2 separate regions of the Homo sapiens genome follow, and region 1 is linked to region 2. Evidence: promoter capture Hi-C in 16 types of primary human blood cells and fetal thymus (Javierre and others, 2016). All regions are on one chromosome and are shown on one strand. The core of a region is centred on a gene start or on the middle of the fragment in contact, and the rest is flanking DNA. Distances in the headings are between cores, read along the strand shown. Region 1 overlaps GSDME (gasdermin E). Region 2 holds the start of OSBPL3 (oxysterol binding protein like 3).

Region 1 (3,226 bases), core at 727-3,226, 270 kb after region 2:
GAAAGCTGGTTTCTTTTGTCGGGGATGTGGGGGCGCAGCATATAGGAGGAGATGGGCAAGGAAAAGGAGAAACAAATAGGTGAGAGCTTAGCACAAAGAGCTAGGAACCGCTCCGTGTGCGCGCTGGCTTGGAGGGTAAGCACAGAAGCCCTGGTGACTACATCTGTGGAGCTTCGATGAGTCCCAAACCAGGATGCTTTTGTAGCAAAAATGTCCGTATTTGAAGAAATGACAACAAAGGCCCAATTTTAATATAAGGCTTTCCTATCTTGGCTTCCTTGAGATGGATAAGTGGGTGCAATTTTCAGCTGCCACTTGAAGGATTTTGTCATTGTGGGTTAGAACCACAGCAAAATGGCCCTGCAGCCACTGGGTAGCAGAAGGCAGTCCCGTGCTGCAGCTTCCTTCTGTCCTGCCCACAGGCCCACCCTTCGAGTTGGCCATTCTGGTCAGCAGGGGTGCAGTGGGAGCTGGGTGTGCGACTGGACCGACCAGGACAGCTTCTCTCTTCAGGCTGGGACTGGTAAAGACAGTTGTGTGTATAGCAGAGTTTTGAAATATGTTGGTTACTGATGTTCTGTGTTCCTCTGCGTGGGGCTTTATACAACTGCTAGTTGGAATCGTCCATCCTCATGGGTGGTACATTGATGTATTAGTGTGCATCCCTGCATACGAAACCTTTATCAAATCTTTAAAAATAAAATCTCCACTAGACTTAATTTACAAGAAGCTTCTGAGTATCTTAAAAACAAACAAACAAACAAAAAAACCAAAAAACAAAGAAAGGAAAAGAGATTCTAAGGGGAGAGGCCCCTAAGCATCCTGCAGAGGCAATAGCTTCGGGGACTCAGTGCTCAGCTTGAGGACTCATGAAGAAGCAAAGGATAGAGAAAGAATAGCTGTGCTTGCCATGAAAATAGGGTGCCAGCCCCTTTAAAAATGGGCATTAAATATTAAAGGATAGAAAATCTGCAATGTACTACAAGAAAGGACGTGAAAAATAATGTATTTTGGAATTTGTATGGCTCTAAAGCATTGTAAAAGCACTGACTTGTTTAGTAATTCAGCTTTGATAATTTACTTCTAGAGAAGTCATGCTAAAGAAGAATTTAAATAACTTTTCCAGAAAATAATTGATTAGACTTAATGTTTAGTGAGTCATCAGAGAAGAGTGAAGCTTGAAATACAAAACTTGGCTTCCCTCTTTCTCTCTCTCTCCTCCCTCCCTTTGGTTATTGAAAAATATGCAGGGTGGCTTGTAACTTGATGTTTATTTCTGAGTTCCATGACTGACTATGCAGCTGGGAATATCCATGAAAGAACTGATGACGATTAGGTATAAAAAGCAGGAGTTGCTGTCCGACGTCGTGAGATGTGCATCGCAGTCATGAGACTTGGGTGTGCTTTGTTTTCACAGCGACCCTGCTCCTGGAGAGGAATTTCCATCCATTTGCGGAGCTGCCTGAGCCACAACAGACAGCTTTGAGTGACATCTTCCAGGCGGTCCTATTTGATGATGAACTACTCATGGTCCTGGAACCAGTGGTGAGCCCTGAGACATCTCAAGGCAGTGTTTTCACTGGGGTTTTCTGGAACAGGGGAGGAGGCAGGATGGAATTGTGTTAAAGGTTCCCCCGCCTCCTTTTCTCCCTACAGCTGTCTCTTTTCTGACTCTTGGGTCCTGCGTTTTCTAAGTGCAGACAGGTAGCTGGCATCGGGTGGAGGGAGGTGTTAATTTCCTAGGGCTGCCTCAACAAACCTGAGGGCTTAAAAAACCAGGAATTTATTCTCTCATAGTTTTGGAGCCCAAAAGTCCAAAGTCTAGGTGTCTGCAGGGCCACACTTCCCCCAGAGGATCTAGGAGAGAATTCTGCTGCCTTGTCTCCTTCCAGCTGCGGATGGCTCCTAGTGTTCCTGGCTCATGGCAGCAGCACTCCAGCCTCTGCTCTGTCTCCATGTGGGCTTCCCCTCTGTGTGTGTGTGTGTGTCTTCTCCTTTACTGTCTGTTATAAAGACACCATCATTGGATTTAGGGCCCACCCCAATCTAGGATGATCTCATTTTGATTTCCTTACTTTAATTACATCTGCAAAGACTAAGGTCACGTTCTTAGGTTCCAGGTAACATATGTTGGTGGGCCACTACTCAGACTACTGCAAGGGGGTCGTGTGGTGGAATCTATAAAGTCAGCCTGTTCCATTTAGAACAGAGAAATAAATAGGCTTTTGCACTGTTGTGTTTTGCAGCAGAAGGATATCCTGGGGAGGTCAAGTTCCTTAACTCTTAGTTGTACAAATGGTGAGAGCCACACAAGCTGCCAACCCTCCAGCCACCCAGATTCTGTGTCCTCCCTTTCTTAAGGCTGAGGCTTTATAAACCTGATTTTGACTACAGTTTTGTTTTTTGTTCTTTTGTTTTTCTATTATATTATGCAGGGAGTTTGAATAACTGATTTAGTGCTTTATGGTTTCCAGGGAAGTGTTCATATTATTTTTCTCTCTTGAAATTAGATTGTGCCGAAAGAGCCTGGGTATCAGTGATGGAACCTGTTATTGAAACAGTCCCACAGCCCAGGACATTTGCATTCTAGAGGGTGGGGAGCTCAGCTCCAGGGAGAACAGTGTTTTAAAAAGCCCATTGACTTCTACTTCCGAAAATAACTTCTTCCAAGAGGAAAATGTCAGGCCAGCACCCTGTGGAGAGAGCCTCAGCTGCCCTGTCAAATGCTGGAGAAGCAAGCTGCCCGGCTGGTGGCGAGGGTGGGGTCAAGCTTTCAGATGATCGGATCTGGACACCAAGGCTGTGGGTGGTGCAGAATTGGCGGGGTGGTCCGAACTGGCTCTCCAGCAGGGTCGCCTCACTCCACAGCAGGCTCTGTGGGGACAGATGCAGCTGCCCAGTGCCCGGTGGGAATGTGGCCGGGGGCTGGAGCGCCTAGCTTAACGCATGAGAACCAAGACAAGACGATGCTTGAACATCGCCCTCCCCAGTTCTGTGTGTAACCACTTGTTTCTGGTCCCTGGCACTACCCAACAGACCCTGCCCTGGAAGGTTCTATGCCACAGTTCCAGCAAGTACGCCCCCAACCCTCGTGGGCCAGGTTCAGCTTACTGTCCCGTCAGTGAAATGTAGCCACCAAGGATTAGCAATTTCAGAACGTAGAGAAGAGCTGCGGGTCGTACTTTCCTCGGGGGAGTGGGAAGGGCTGGGGCTTGTGTGTACTGTG
Region 2 (3,153 bases), core at 169-2,668:
CTGAGCGTGGTGAATGAAATGTGAACAGAATAGCTCCGGAAAGAGTCTCAGAAACCTTGAATTGGGGTCAGTTTGGAGACTGAAAATGCGTCGAGCGCTGCAGGTGGTGGTTGGCAGGGGGATTTAACACTGTGGAGCCCTTACTCCGTCCCAGGCGCTGAGCCCAGCGAGCCACGCGCGGTGCCCAGCTCGGTGAGGTCGGTTAGTTGGGTCTTCAGGGAGGCTAAATACCCTGTATTTGCTATTCCCTTCGCCTGGAACGCTCTGTGCGAGACTGGGTGTGGCAGCTCCTTTCCCAGGCTCAGGAATCTGGGTAAAAGCCACCCTCGCCTAGAGGCCCTCAGGGTGAGCGCCCCATCACGCGCTAAACCACTTTCGAAAGTGGACTTGGCCCTCCTCTCAGTACTAACAGTCTGTCAGCCTTTTATTTTTTGCATAGATATGTATTTTCTCTTCTTTATTGTCTGTCTTTCCACAAAAAATGCAAGCCCCGTGAGTACTGGAGCCTGGTGCGCCTTTCTCACAGTTGCAAGCTCGCAACTGCTCCTGGCATATACTAGGTGCTCACTAAATGCTCATGCCCTTCCCACCCGCCACCTGCGGCACTCGACACATTTGCAGTCTGCAAACTGACCCCAAACCATCAGCTGCTTGCATTCGTCCTAGGATCAAAGAAGGCCATTGGGCTAGTGGGAAGTCAAGTCGGGTGGACTTTTCCGTCTTTCAGGGAGATTTAATAGTAACGACGGTGCTCTCCCCACCTCCTACCCCCTTGCACATAAACTGCACAGAACAAAATCACCCCGGCACGAATCTGCACGACTGCCTCTGGAGGTAGGGTCACGGTCTCCGAGCCCCGGGTCTCACACTGATGCTGTCCTTTGTCATCTCGTGCCTAGAGTGCTGCCTCCCTATGTATTTCCTCTGTTCTCGACTCCTCTGCCACAGTCTGACTTTCTCGGGAGGTCGAGTTCTCCTAGCCTGTGCGACCGCAAGGGTCCCCTGGAGCCTTCTCCGTAAACCTGCCCCTCCCGCGCTGCCCTCACTTTTTCCTCCTTCCCTGGCCCGGAAAAGCCACTAGAGGAACATTTACCGAACGCCTACCGCGCGCAGGCACCGAGCTGGGCCACCGGGAGCCCCACCCAGTGCCTCGCCGCAGGACTCGCCTCCCTCCGCCCTCCCAACCCATCCGGAATCCGGGGTCCCTAGTTCCCCCGCCGCGTCATGGAATCCGCTGGCTTCTTCCGAGGACATCGCCCCACCTCCTTCCCGAAAGGCGACTTCTGATTGGTGAGATTGTGCATCACTCTGCCGCCCTCCCGCCCCCTCGGGGCCCCGCCCCTGGGCCTCTCAGGCCCCTCCCCTGCGCTCCCGCCCTTGCGCGGCTCCTCGGGCTAATCGCCGGGCGGCGCGCGCCGAGAAGTTCTGGGCAAAGTACTCAGAACTGGCCGCGTGCTGGTGGCGCCCGCCAGCCGGCCCGGGAGAGGGGACTTGAGCGCTTCGCGGCCGGTGCGCAGCGCGGCTCCGGCCCCGCAGTCTGTCTGCAAGTGGCCATCCCCGCCCCCGACTCCTGCGGCCGGTGCGGGAGCTGTCAGCTGCACGTTGCGGGGGTACCGGAGAAGCCGGGGTTGCCTTCTCCCGGTTCTGTGCGCTAACCCCGGAGCCCGGCCCCGGGGAACTAGGGAGCGTCTCCGGCTGCACAGCGCTCAGGTGAGTGGCGGGGCGCCCGCCTAAATGGGGCCTGGGTGTCGGGGGGCCTGGCGGCGGCGCGGGCTCGGAAGGGCTGCTGTTTGCGGGGCGCCGCGGTTCTCTGCCGGACCGGGGTCTGTCCGAGTCGCCCGGGGAGGCTCCGGCCCTGGGGCAGACCCAAGCCTGGGAGCTTGGGTGCCGGCTGCAGCTCCCGGGGAAGGAGGACCCGGGTCTCACCCACCCCAGGACACCTTCCCTCGAGGGACGGCTCAGAGGATTGACCGCCAGGAGGAGCCGAGCGCAGGGGCCGCGGCGCAGGTGCGGGAGGACGCGGCGCGCGGAGCTGTCCTGGGCAGCGGGGAGGCGCTACGCCGGGGCTAGAGGCTCAGGAAGCCTGGTAAATTGGGGCGAGCGCGAAGCTTTACCACATCCGCGGGATGGGGCGCGCCGGAGAGACTGAGACAACGCTCGCGGGGCAGGCGCTCCGCTCGCCCGCCTTCCCAACCCCGGCTTGCTCAGCTCCCCGGTGCTGGGCTGGAGGCCCAGGGCACATTCCTTTCTTGTCTGAATTTACATATTCATCAGCTTTCTGGCCCCTTCTGGAATTTTTTTTTTTTGTTAGTTTCCAATTACTACTGTTCAGATCACCTTCAGGCTCACCCTAACTCTCGTCTCAGTGTCTCTCACATTGGTCCTTTCCTGGAGGCCCTGCAGCGTCTTAGTTCAGGGTCTTAGGGACTTATGCACTCTGTCTGAACGTTGTCTACAGTTGGGTTTTCCTACCTCTGTCTCTGTTTATTCCGTGGTCAGGTAAATTCTTTAAGTACTGTCATCATAAGCCAGAAACTCCCAGGCAGCCTCTTAGCGCTGCCCAGCTTCCCGGGGAGCGTTTGTGGCCTCTGGAGTCGCTGATGGGCACTGTCGCAGGTCGTCCAGATACTTCTTAAGCAGGGGCGCGCCGCCCTTCCTTCGGCAACGCAACTTGCTTGCTGCCTTCTGCACACTTGTGCTTGTCCTTCTCCGCCTCACAAGCCACCAGTCTCCTCAGTCGGGACTCTTGGAGCTGAGGGGACTGTGAAGTTGTCGGTTTCCATGTGTCTGCGTACTGCGCAGAGGTGCTTGAGACCCCCTAGGTGTTGCTCTGACCCTCAGAGTTTGAGTATTGGGATGAGGGCATTTAGAAATATTTTAAACTACAGCTGCAAAAGAGATACTTCCACAGATGGGTGAAAGCGAAGGCCTGGCTTCTCATCATCTGCACTGTACCCCGCAAGTATCATACAAGGTGAGGTCCTTGGCTAAAGGACTATACTTGGCTAAAGGAGATCAGTCAAGCAGGCCTAGGTTCTTATGCATCCAAGCTAAATGACCATCCCCTCCAGCCAAGCCACATCACCCGTTTGCTGTTGCTCATAGCACTTAAATTTCTCTCTGAAATTGTCTCTTTGGGTTATTGGGTTATCT

What was found. Contacts are between HindIII fragments. The CHiCAGO score rates a contact against its expected background, and 5 or more counts as called.
Region 1: a contact is called between a fragment that was not itself captured here and the fragment with the promoter of OSBPL3 in region 2, in 1 of 17 cell types (M0 macrophages). The highest score is 5.4, in M0 macrophages.

Annotation. Positions count from the first base shown.
Region 1 is chr7:24,706,446-24,709,671 of GRCh38, reverse strand. GSDME (gasdermin E) reads left to right here. Exons shown (of 10, transcript NM_001127453.2): 7 at 1,418-1,545. Among named protein-coding and RNA genes, the nearest start is that of GSDME, 49 kb to the left of the region's middle. The HindIII fragment of the contact is 1,593 bases long and covers 1,180-2,772 here.
Region 2 is chr7:24,978,443-24,981,595 of GRCh38, reverse strand. It overlaps OSBPL3 (oxysterol binding protein like 3), which reads left to right and starts at 1,418. Exons shown (of 23, transcript NM_015550.4): 1 at 1,418-1,710. RefSeq lists an enhancer at 1-118 and silencers at 1,259-1,768, 1,819-2,028. The HindIII fragment of the contact is 2,254 bases long and covers 1-2,110 here.